Regions from separate parts of the Homo sapiens genome. Here regions 1, 2 and 4 are each linked to region 3. The links are contacts of gene promoters, found by promoter capture Hi-C in blood cells and fetal thymus (Javierre and others, 2016). All regions are on one chromosome and are shown on one strand. The core of a region is centred on a gene start or on the middle of the fragment in contact, and the rest is flanking DNA. Distances in the headings are between cores, read along the strand shown. Region 1 overlaps LOC105370698 (a long non-coding RNA gene). Region 2 holds the start of BTBD6 (BTB domain containing 6). Region 3 holds the start of TEX22 (testis expressed 22). Region 4 holds the start of TMEM121 (transmembrane protein 121).

The links. Contacts are between HindIII fragments. The CHiCAGO score rates a contact against its expected background, and 5 or more counts as called.
Region 1: a fragment that was not itself captured here is called in contact with the fragment with the promoter of TEX22 in region 3 in 1 of 17 cell types (total CD8 T cells); the score reaches 5.6 in total CD8 T cells.
Region 2: a contact is called between the fragment with the promoter of BTBD6 here and the fragment with the promoter of TEX22 in region 3, in 6 of 17 cell types (monocytes, erythroblasts, endothelial precursors and 3 more). The highest score is 8.6, in monocytes.
Region 4: a contact is called between the fragment with the promoter of TMEM121 here and the fragment with the promoter of TEX22 in region 3, in 2 of 17 cell types (total CD8 T cells and erythroblasts). The highest score is 5.5, in total CD8 T cells.

Annotation. Positions count from the first base shown.
Region 1 is chr14:105,548,322-105,551,021 of GRCh38, forward strand. It overlaps LOC105370698 (a long non-coding RNA gene), which reads left to right. Exons shown (of 4, transcript XR_001750918.2): 2 at 869-1,361. It also overlaps the pseudogene ELK2BP. Among named protein-coding and RNA genes, the nearest start is that of TMEM121, 23 kb to the left of the region's middle. The HindIII fragment of the contact is 1,174 bases long and covers 810-1,983 here.
Region 2 is chr14:105,246,986-105,249,812 of GRCh38, forward strand. It overlaps BTBD6 (BTB domain containing 6), which reads left to right and starts at 1,548. Exons shown (of 4, transcript NM_001387567.1): 1 at 1,548-2,100; 2 at 2,172-2,262; 3 at 2,375-2,493; 4 at 2,655-2,827. The coding sequence starts at 1,727. The region is part of intron 5 of BRF1 (BRF1 general transcription factor IIIB subunit); the gene reads right to left. RefSeq lists enhancers at 1,174-1,964, 2,756-2,827 and silencers at 1,340-1,899, 2,100-2,149. The HindIII fragment of the contact is 26,340 bases long and covers 1-2,827 here.
Region 3 is chr14:105,397,248-105,399,947 of GRCh38, forward strand. TEX22 (testis expressed 22) reads left to right here and starts at 1,291. Exons shown (of 4, transcript NM_001195082.2): 1 at 1,291-1,388; 2 at 2,055-2,243. The coding sequence starts at 2,094. PACS2 (phosphofurin acidic cluster sorting protein 2) reads left to right here. Exons shown (of 25, transcript NM_001100913.3): 25 at 1-900. RefSeq lists a silencer at 804-1,713 and enhancers at 1,381-1,891, 1,892-2,402. The HindIII fragment of the contact is 23,339 bases long and covers 1-2,700 here.
Region 4 is chr14:105,525,280-105,528,062 of GRCh38, forward strand. It overlaps TMEM121 (transmembrane protein 121), which reads left to right and starts at 1,304. Exons shown (of 2, transcript NM_025268.4): 1 at 1,304-1,374. The HindIII fragment of the contact is 18,865 bases long and covers 1-2,783 here.

The DNA of each region.
Region 1 (2,700 bases), core at 147-2,646, 150 kb after region 3:
ACTTGGAGAACCTTTATGTCTAGCTAAGGGATTGTAAATACACCAATCAGCACCCTGTATCTAGCTCAAGGTTTGTAAACACACCAATCAGCACCCTGTGCCTAGCTCAGGGTTTGTGGATGCACCAGTTGGCACGCTGTATCTAGTTAATCTGGTGGGGACTTGGAGAACCTGTATGTCTAGCTAAGGGATTGTAAATACACCAATCAGCACTCTGTATCTAGCTCAAGGTTTGTAAACCCACCAATCAGCACCCTGTGTCTAGCTCAGGGTTTGCGGATGCACCAATCGGCACTCTGTATCTAGTTAATCTGGTGGGGACTTGGAGAATCTTTATGTCTAGCTAAGGGATTGTAAATACACCAATCAGCACTCTGTATCTAGCTCAAGAGTTGTAAATGCACCAATCAGCGCTCTGTGTCTAGCTAATCTGGTGGGGACTTGGAGAATCTTTATGTCTAGCTAAGGGACTGTGAATGCACCAATCAGCACTCTGTATCTAGCTCAAGGTTTGTAAATGCACCAATGAGCACTGTGTCTAGCTCAGGGTTTGTAAATACACCAATTGACACTCTGTATCTAGCTAATCTAGTGGGGACGTGGAGAACTTTTGTGTCTAGCTCAGGGATTGTAAACACACCAATCAGCACCCTGTCAAAACGGACCAATCAGCTCCCTGTAAAACAGACCAATCGGCTCTCTGTAAAATGGACCAATCAGCAGGATGTGGGTGGGGCCAGATAAGGGAATAAAGGCAGGCTGCCTGAGCCAGCAGCGGCAACCCGTTAGGGTCGTCTTCTATAGGGGAAAGCTTTGTTTTTCACTGTTTGTAATAAATCTTGTTACTGCTTCGTTTTTGCATTTACAGTGCCTTTGTGAGCTGTGACACTCATGGTAAAGGTCTGTAGCTTCATTTCTGAAACCAGCGAGACCCCCAACCCACCAGGAAGAACAAACAACTCTAGACGCGGTGCCTTAAAAGCTCTAACACTCACCACGAAGGTCTGCAGCTTCAGTCTTGAACCACCGAGACCACAAACCCACCAGAAGAAAAAAAAAAACAAAAACTCGGAACATGAGGGAACAAACGGCGGGACATGCCGCCTATTAAGAACTGTAGCACTCACTGCGAGGGTCCGCGGCTTCGTTGTTGAAGTCAGTGAGATCAAGAACCGACCAATTCCAGACACAGTAGTACGGCAAGGCCCGCCTGAGCTTGTCGTAATTCACGTTGGTCTTGTTCTTGCGTCGCCCCCACGGCTAGGCCACCTTCCTCTGCAACCACCACCATCCCATGAAGTCCAGGAGCTGTGGCCGTTGCCTTGCTCTCAGCTGCAGCAGAAAGTGCCAGAGCGTCACAGGTGGGTCCATCGCCGGGGGAGTGCTCACGCCATCCTAGGGGTACCTGTGTGTAGCGGGGCGGTGGTGCTGGCCATGCTGGCAGCTCCGGGAGGTGGGGGGCTCCATACGCGGCCCCGCCGCCCCCCAGGCCTGGGTGCGGAGGCCGGAAGGTTTTTTTTTTTTACGTTTTAAGTAATTGGCTTAGGAAAAACAAGGATTTTTGTGTGCCATCAAGATAACTTGTGCTTCATGTTGTTTTTCATTATGTCAGTGATTCACGAAAAAGGTAATTTTTTTTCGCAAAGACATTTTTCTGAAGTAGAGAGCTGCGTTTGACGTCCCAAGTCTCCGCAAGGTGTAACAAGACAAGCATCAAAAGTAATGATTTGGGGTGACTTTGCCGTGGTTACATTAATAATGAGATGTGGGGTAGCTAAGGGAAAGAGAAGAGGAAATGCGGACAGGCCAATTAGGCTTTTTTCTTTCACGTTACTCTGGTGGGGGTTGGTCCTGGGATGAAGGTCCGTGACTTTGGAGAGGGAGACTCCTTTTTGACTGGGTATGGTGGGTCTACTCCTTAGCGGGCTGACTGCCGTCTCAGTCGTTAGGAGCATCACATAAGGTCCTTTCCAGGTGGGTTCAAGCTTTTCCCCTTTCCAACTTCTGATAAGAATGTGATCTCGGGGCTGGTGTTGAACTGAGAATTCAAGGGAGGAGAGGATAGAAGACAGACTGGATACATAGTTTTTAAGAAACTCATCGTTTGTCTCAAATGTTGGGAGGTGAGTAGTGGAACTTAAATAAAGCAACCCATGAAGCATTTCATAAGGGGATAGGCCGATGTCTTTTCAGGGAGCAGTTCAGACTCTTATAGGGCCATGGGAAGACACTTAGTCATGGTAACCGGGTTTCTAGAATTAATTTAGGTAGGTGGGTTTTTAGAGTCTGGTTCATTCTTTCTGCTCTTCCTGGTGAGGGTGGATGCCAGGGAGTATGGTATTCCCACTTTATTTGTAGTGCTTGGGTTAGCCCTTTAATGAGCACGGTAAAGTGGGTCCCATTGTCTGAATCAGTGGTCTCTGTTAGTTTGAACCTGGGTATGATGTGTTCTAACAGGGTTTTAACTGCATCACTGGCTGTTGCGCGTGGGAAGGGGAGAGCTTCTGCCCAGTGGGTAAGGTGGTCTGCTATCACTAGTAAATACTTGAGGTGGCCTATTGGGGTCATTTCAATATAGTCAGCTTGGATGCTTTGGAATGGCCTTACCCCTGGATTGTAGGCTGGGCATGGTGGCTCATGCCCATAATCCCAGCACTTTGGGAGGTCAAGGTGGGAGGATCCTTTGAGACTAGGAGTTGA
Region 2 (2,827 bases), core at 298-2,797, 150 kb before region 3:
TGATCCTTTCTGTTGCTGATGGACATGTAGGCTGTCTCCACTCTGGCCATTTGTATTTCTCCTGGAAACTGCTTATGCCCGTTACCTTTTTCTATGGAAACAGACGGCTGGGACAGAAACCACGGCCACAGCAGCCAGCGTGTCTTTGCCAGTGGGGTCCCACACTATGAAATCGCAGCTGTGGCCTCGGTGGGTGTGTCCTTGGCGGGTGCATCCACACACTTTCTCTCGGAACTTTCCGGACTCTCATGCATATGCTACAGCTTTCCAAACGGCTTGGCCGTGCGGAGTTACGCACCCACCTGCAGCAGGTGATCTCCAGCTGCTCTGCATTCCACCAACACTACGTGACAAGTCTCAAGTTCAGCCGCCTGGGGGCTCGGGCACCCCATTCCTGGGAGAAATGATGATTTGTGCACTCTGGGCCATTGCATGGTGTCTGTTCACGTCCTTTGCCCGTTTTTTAAAAAACTGGGTTGTCAGCCTTTTCCTTCCTGACTTGTAGTTGCTCCTCCATCCTGGAGAGTCCTTTGTTGAAAATACCGCAAATATCTTCTGAAGAGGACTCTCCCAGGGAACATTCACTACAACTGTAACGACCACAGAGACACAGAGCTCCTGTTCACTGTTTAGCCCAGGACTGCGGTGACAGGTGCACCCATGACCCGAGATGCTGGCTGCGTCCTGTGGGGTTTCCTGCATATGGAAGTTTTAAAAGTCTAAAGCCTGGCGGTCCAGGAGGTTGCGTGTGTGTCCTCGGGGAGGAACCCTCCTGACAGCCAGGCCTCTGGAGCTTCGTCTGCACGCGAGCTTGGCATGCACCAGCTGTGCGGCCCAGGCCAGGTGACACGGCCTCTGAAGTCTGGTCTCCTCATCAGCAAAGCCAGTGCCCCATGCCACGCACCTCCCAGGATTAGCCCCAGGCCGGGAGGCTAGAGGCCCCACAAGGAGCGAGCCTGCGACTGCGATCCACAGGCAGAGCCACAGAGGCAGGGCGCGCCCTGGGGCCCAAGCTCCAGGGCTGCAGGCCCAGGGCCAGATCCTGACTTGCCCACCCGCCGGCTGTGTGACCTTCAGCGCGCGACTAACCTCTCTGTGCCTATTTCCTCGAGGAAAATGCCGGGAAATAGCAGCGCCTGCCCCTGTAAAGCCCTCAGAGCAGAGTGGACCGCGCTCTCTGCAAGCGCTGGCTGCTGGCGTCCGTAGCAAGCTAAATCGCGAAGCATCTGAACGAACGAGGAAGCCCAACGACCATCCCACAGGCCGCGGCCAGAGGCAGACTCCGGAATGCAAATGGCCAAACAAGCAGGTCCACCTGCGTTCCTAACCAAAAGATCGCTAACTGAAGAACGGGCGCAAGCACCTGCGCATGGCACTGCGGGTCTGGGGGCGGCCGCCTGCCAGCGCCGGGAGCCGCCTTCCACGGCTACCTCTGCACAGCGCGCGGCTCGCGCCGGTTGCTGGGCAGAAGCTCGAGCAGCTTCGAGGATGTCGGGCCTGGGGGCGGGGCCGCGAGGCAGCGACGTCGCGCGGGGCGCGGCCCTGACGCAGCGTGACGCACCGGCGCCGCGGCGGGTACGGGCTCGGGCGGGCGGGCGGGCGGGACGGCGCCCCCCGCGGCCGGGCCTGGCCGGGCTGCGCTAGGCTGGGCTCGGGCAGGGTCGCAGGGGCGGGGGTGGCAGGGGAGCGGGTGGCAGCCCCGCGGGTCACAGCGCCGCCGCCGCCCATGCTGCTGCCCCTAGCCTGCCTGCACGGCCGCGTCGCTCAGTGCCTGACCTCCTTGCTTTTGCTTGCAGAGCCGCTCCCGAGGCCCCGGCGCGGCGCGAGGGCGCGGGGCGCGGCGTCCACAGGCGCCGAGGCTGCCCCCGCCGCCCCGCCCGCGAAGATGGCGGCGGAACTCTACGCTCCCGCCAGCGCCGCGGCCGCGGACCTAGCCAACAGCAACGCCGGCGCCGCCGTGGGCAGGAAGGCCGGGCCGCGCAGCCCGCCCAGCGCCCCCGCGCCAGCGCCGCCGCCGCCCGCGCCCGCGCCGCCCACACTCGGCAACAACCACCAGGAGAGCCCCGGCTGGCGGTGCTGCCGCCCCACGCTGCGCGAGAGGTGAGCCCGTGCCCCGCGGCCCCCGCGCCCGCGCGCGCCCACGCCCCCAGCCCGTGCCTCTACCTTTGCAGGAACGCGCTCATGTTCAACAACGAGCTCATGGCCGACGTGCACTTCGTCGTGGGGCCCCCGGGGGCGACCAGGACGGTGCCCGCCCACAAGGTGGGTAGCGGCGGCCCCTCTCGGAACGCGTGCCCCGTCCGCCCCGTCCGCCGTGTGGCTGACACGCAGCCTGCGGGAGAGCCAGGCTCACGGCGGCGCTTTCTCCTCCCAGTACGTCTTGGCTGTCGGCAGCTCCGTCTTCTATGCCATGTTCTACGGAGACCTGGCGGAAGTCAAATCTGAAATTCACATTCCAGACGTGGAGCCCGCAGCCTTTCTGATCCTCTTAAAGTAAGTCCACTCTACTGGGGAGGGACGGGTGGGTCCGTTTTAGGCGGCCTCCGGAGGCTTCTGAAGGGAAGCACACAGGAGCTGATGGACTCCTCTCCCAGGCCCAGCCCCGCGATGGGTGCTTGGGAGCCAGCCCCTGACGCGGGCCCTGCCTCGCCTAGGTACATGTACAGTGATGAGATCGATCTGGAAGCCGACACGGTGCTGGCCACTCTGTACGCTGCTAAGAAGTACATCGTCCCAGCATTGGCAAAAGCCTGTGTCAACTTTCTGGAGACAAGTTTGGAAGCCAAGAACGCCTGCGTCCTGCTGTCCCAGAGCCGGCTGTTTGAGG
Region 3 (2,700 bases), core at 41-2,540:
CCTCACAGAGCTGTTCTGAGGGTGCATGGAGGAGCACTCTGTCCCACCAAGGACAACTAGAAACCAAAGCCATCTGACAGCCAGTGCGGTAAGGGCGGGGGATGTGTGTGTGAGGTGTGCACACCCCCCGAGAACCTGGCCCTGGACTGGCCTCACAGGACAGGAGGCAGCCCCTTGTAGAGCTAGGGCTCAGCCCCATCAGTCTCAAAGGTTAAGCCACCAGTCACCACCGAGGCACCCCTCAGGCCTGGTGGCCACTGTCCACTATTACGTAGACAGACCCCACCCTCACCCAGGCCAGCTGTGGGCCAGTCCCGCCCTGCAATCTGGTCTGCTGCCTTCCTCTTCCATGTTGGTCCCCTTGGCCACTGTCTCTGGGCATGCAAGCCAGTGTCCTGGTTCAGTGCCTCGGCCAGAGCTGGGGCAGGAGAGGGGCCTCTGGGTGAGAGCTGGGGGTGTCTCTGCAGGGTACTGGCAGCCTTGCCACACTGTCCTCATTCCCAGATGGAAAGACCTGAGTGCCTCTCGCCTTCCTCCGGGAATGAATTCCTCATGAAAATGACCAGGCCACTTCTTCCGAGGGCCAGGCCGCCCCCTCCCCGAGACCTGTCCTGCCGTCCGCGGGTGTGTGGCCTGTAGGGGACTGAGAGCTGGGCTTGCTGGGCACCTCTGGAATCTGACCCTGTGGGCCAAAGAAGCACCACTGTAGTTTCTGCAGACCCCCATGCGGTTCATTGTGCATTGTTTGGTTTCTAGGATGTATGTGTTGCTAGTTTTTTTTAATGAAACCCTGGATTAATGTAAATAGCTTTTTGGGGAACGGATTCTAATGTCACGTATGTGACCGTGTGGACTATTTCAAGGTGCTGATGCAACACTAATAAACCTGGAGGGGCCGGCCCCCGCCTGCAGTGTGATTCTCTCGGCCGTCCACCCCTTGGGAGCACGCGGCGGAGCAGCGCCTCCCTCCCGCCCGCGCGCCCCGTCCTGGGTCGCCCCGCCCCAGCCCTGCGGCCCCGCGCGCGCGGAGGTGGCCCGGGGCTCAGCGGCATCGCGCCGCTTGAAGGGCGCAGGGCCGAAAGGGGCTCTGGCCGACAAACCCCAAGTTCAGGTCTGTGCTTCGGGAGACCCCGGAGGCCGACGCCCGGAAGGGCCCGTGGGGCGGTAGCGGCCATAGACCCGGATATGCGCCGGGGACCCCCAGACCGCGCCCATCCCCCACCCGCCGCAACGGAGCCCAGAACGCAGGCGCGGCGCAGACCGGAAGCGGAACCGGTGGGGGCGGGGCTTGCCGTAGCGGACGTTCTGGAGCGAGGCGCCGGCCCCTTGGGCCCCCTCAAGCCGCGGTGTACTCCAGCGGCCCCCTGTGGCCTCTCCATCCGCGGCGGGTCTGTCCCTCCTTCTGTCTCCGGGTGCCCACGTACCCCCCACCTCCGACCGCCGTTCCCGTGTACCCCGCCCCCCCGCCGAACCCCAGAGTGCCCACGGCCTCCAGCGTGTGTCCTGAGCCTTCTTCCCCCGTCCCTCCGCGGACCCCGGCCGCGCAGACCCCGCCTCCCCACCGGAGAGGGCGGGCACGTAAGGGCTCCGGGCTGGGCCTGGGGCGAGGCCTGGGCCGCGTGGAGGGGAGGTCTCAGGGTCGGAAGCGGGGCTGTGGCAAGAGCTCTGGGCCTTTCCTTCGCCCCGGGCGTAGCAAGGCCGGGCCCTGAGAGCGTGCCCGCAGTGCTGGCTGAGGGCTGATGCCCCTGGAACGTTTGAGAAGGCTGGCAGAGGCGTGGAGTCCGTGCAGCAGGCTGCCGAAGGCTTTCCAGGCTCCCGGGGTGGGGTCGGCAGGGGCAGAGAGGACAGTTCGGGAGGCTGGTGTGGAGAAGAGCTGCGGCGGGAGCTGGGGGATCCACTCCACCCAGAGGGGTCAGTGATGCCTGACCTTTGGCTGGAAGGTGACCCTAGCAGACCGCGATACTGCCACCATCTGCCCCCAGGGACTCAGGTATTGGTGGGCACGTGGGTGGCCTTGTGGGCCCCGCCCCACCTCCCCCTGCTCCTACCCCCAGATCTCAGAGGTGTGGACAAGCAGCCTACTAGGGCTAGAGATGGACAGCAGGAAACTGTCCCCCCGGGGGAAGAAGCTGGAGTCGCACCTCTCCCAAGAGCACAGGCGGCCCCCACTGGGCCTGATAGCAGCCTGGGGCCAGCCCAGTATCCAGAGCAGCGTTCAGCAGGGACTGCAGACTCAGGACTGGGTAAGCGGAAGGAAACCCTGGCCGAGGCTACTCTCCTGTCCCCAGCCCGCCTGAGGCCGCTGTCTCTGAAAACTCCAGGCTGGTCGTGATGAGCAGCCTCAGGGGAGGGCTGAGTGGGGACTGATGAGAAACAGATGGCTGGACTCAGGAGGCTCTCTTCCCCATGGCCCTGGACGAGCACCAAGGTGGACCTGCACCCTTCTTGCTTCCAGAACCGTGGGCCGCTGGGCTCTGTAGAGAGGTCTTCCAAGGCCAGGAAGGAGGCAAGGCAACACACTTCCCTTAGCTCTCCCCAGTGCCTCCCACCCCAGGCTGAAGGTGGCAAGAAGCGGGAGGGAAAGCAAGGTCCCCAGGGGGGGTGGTGTCCTCCCAACCAGGTGGGGCAGCTGTCAGGAGAAGGATTTGTCACTGAAAGTTGACCAAAACAAAATAGTGGGAGAGGCTCTGCTGTGATTCC
Region 4 (2,783 bases), core at 54-2,553, 130 kb after region 3:
TAATTTTTATATTTTTAGTAGAGATGGGGGTTTCACCATGTTGGCCAGGCTGGTCTCGAACTCCCGACCTCAGGTAATCCGCCCACATCGGCCTCCCAAAGTGCTGGAATTACAGGTGTGAGCCACCACGCCCAGCCCATGGATTGCTTTCTACTGCTTCTCCCTGCCCACCATCTCTCCAGCGACAGGGGACCACATCTCCTGGGGCTGGAAAGGAAGGCTCTTCTGCCTCAGCGTTTTAGGTGCTTGTAAACCCTATGCCTTGGTCATGGCTTTGGTGGGATACCTAGGGGCTGGGGCATCAGAGAATGGAGAAGAGTAAAAAAACAACCACTACCAAAAAACCCCATCCTCCCAAACCCTAACATCCCCCCGGGCATTCTCCTGCACCCTGGGAGCATTAGGCGACCTTTTTCTTTCCTCCCCTTGTGCCAGGACTAGAGAACTTCTGGAGCTCTCTGTCCTCTTCTGGCTTTCAGGCCGTGTTGAGTCCAGGCCCGGGGATACGGGAAGAGAATCTGGAAGTTCACTACCAGTTGGGTGGTGCCTCAAATTCTGGTCTTTCCACCAAATCTGGTGTCCCTTTACCTCTCTGACCCTCAGTCTCCTCCTATGTCAGAGGGAAGTCACAGCAGTTCTGGGAAGGAGGGCAGGCAGGCAGAAGGTGCCCTCGGGTTCTTCTCTGGCTCACACGGGATGGACAGGATGTGGGGGGAGGGGCTTAGTGCCACCTCAGTGACAAAATGAAGCCCAAGTCCCCAAACCCTAGCTTGCCTCCTGGACGGGCTGGAGAAGAAGGTGGGGGCCGCTCATCATTCCTTTCCTCTGCCCTGAGAAGAAACCTGGGAAGGCTGGGTTTCTCCCCAAAGAGGACAGAGGGTGGCGCGGAGGGCCCCGGCGGCCAGGCCAGCCCCGCGCCTACATCCCTGTCAGCTCCTGGGCCGGTGGGCGCCTGTCCGGCTGAGTGGGGTCGCTCTAGGGGGCGGCAGCGGAGTTTCAGGGCGCGGGGGGCACTGGGCGGGACCCTGGGATTCTGGGCGGTGGGTGAGGAGGGTGGAGACGGGACTCCGCGCCTGGGGGTGCGCGAGGGCGCCCCGCTCCCCAGAGCCACCAGTCCTGCGCGCCGCCGCGCGGTGCTGTCGCCGTGGCAACCGGCGCTGCGGAGGGGGCGGGGCACCGGCACCCCCGCGCTCCCAGGTCCCCAGGTCCGGCGGGGCTCGCGGGCCGAGGGGCGCGGGGCGGGGCCTCTGGGTCGGGGGCGGTGCCGCGCGGGCGGGGGAGGGGCGCGGCGGGAGGAGCCGGCGCGGCCCCGGCAGTGGCGGCAGAGGCTGGGCGGGCGGGCCCGGGAGCGGCGCAGCATCTGCGGGCGGCGGGGTAGGCGCGGGCGCGGGCGGGACTGGCTGGGTGCGCGGCTGCGTCCGCGGAGGGGGCGGCGGGCCTGGGCGACCCTGCACCTCTGGGCCGTGGGGACTGTGGGGTGGGGCGGGGGCCGATGCGGCAGGGGTGAGGCCTGGGGCCGGCGGGGTGACGGGGACCCGGCCCTGCGTGGGGAAGCCTCGGGGGGACAAGCAGAGACGCAGCCTGCTGGGAGCGGCCCAAGCTCTGCACCGGCCCGCGGCGGGAGCACAGCAGCCCCCTCCCGCCCCTCCTCCCGGGGGCTCCGAGGGGTGGTTATGGGGCGAGGGTCCTTGCGGGGCCCGGGCAGTGAAGGGCCTGGAGGCCCCAGAGTCTGTGCCAGGTCTGAGCCGCGGGGCGTGGGGGGAGGAGGGGCCTCGGCCGGGGCCCAGGAGACCCAGGACAGGTGGGCCTGGGGCCAGGTCCCTACGGAGAGGTGGCCGGGCCGGGCTCTGGCTTGCCGGGGTAGGGGCTCCGCTAGGGGCTGGAGTCCGTCCCTTCGCCAGCGCAGAGCCCCTCGGCCCGCATCTGCCAAGTGACTGAGGATCGAGCGACAGCGTAGTGGGGCGGAGGGGCTGGAGGCACGGCCGGAAAGGGTGAGCGGCGCCGTGGCTCCCCCGCTATTTATTTGGCCCCGCCACGCGCGGAGAGGGAGGAAATTCTCAGGCTGCGGCTGCAGCTAGGGGAGGCCCAGGTGGGCCTGGAATGGGCCCAGAGAGGGCTTCCTGGGTCAGACGTGTAGATCCAGTGGACGTGAAAACCGGGTGAGTGTCCCGGTGGGACCCAGAGCGCGGGGAGGCTTGGAGGCAGGGGCATGGGCTGAGGACCCTCAAGGCACCCTCCTCGCGACCTGTCAGAGCTCCGAGGGGTGGGGGTGTCCTGTGTGTGGCTGTGGGGATCCTGGGCGGCGGGTGCTGGGTGGGGGCAGGGGTGGGAGTGCAGAGTTCAACGCTTTCCCGGATCGGTGGGGCCTGCGGTGTCACCAGGGCAGTCCGAGCGCCCGACTGTCACGGGGACATTAAATTTTATGCCTTTGTCTAGACACGGCAGTAAACGGAGCCCCAGGCCTGGGGCTGTGGAGGGGGTGAGGGGCTGGCTGGGAGTAAGCCTGTCAGTGACTTTGGGGTGGGTGCGGGTGTGCGGGCCTCCATTGTCACCCAGGTGTGCACAGGCCCAGGTGCGGGGACTCCGACAGCACGGCCATGAGGACCAGTGCCAGGTGTGTGACAGAGGTGCAGGGGCCTGTGGAAGCCCGACGGGCCTTGGTGGACGGGCTTCCCGAGATTCGAGGGCAGCCACAGGCATCGCCCTGGCGCAGAGGAGCAAAGCAGGGTGGCTCTGCCGGGGCAGAGGGTGGGGGACAACACCTCGCCAAGGCAATGCGGAGC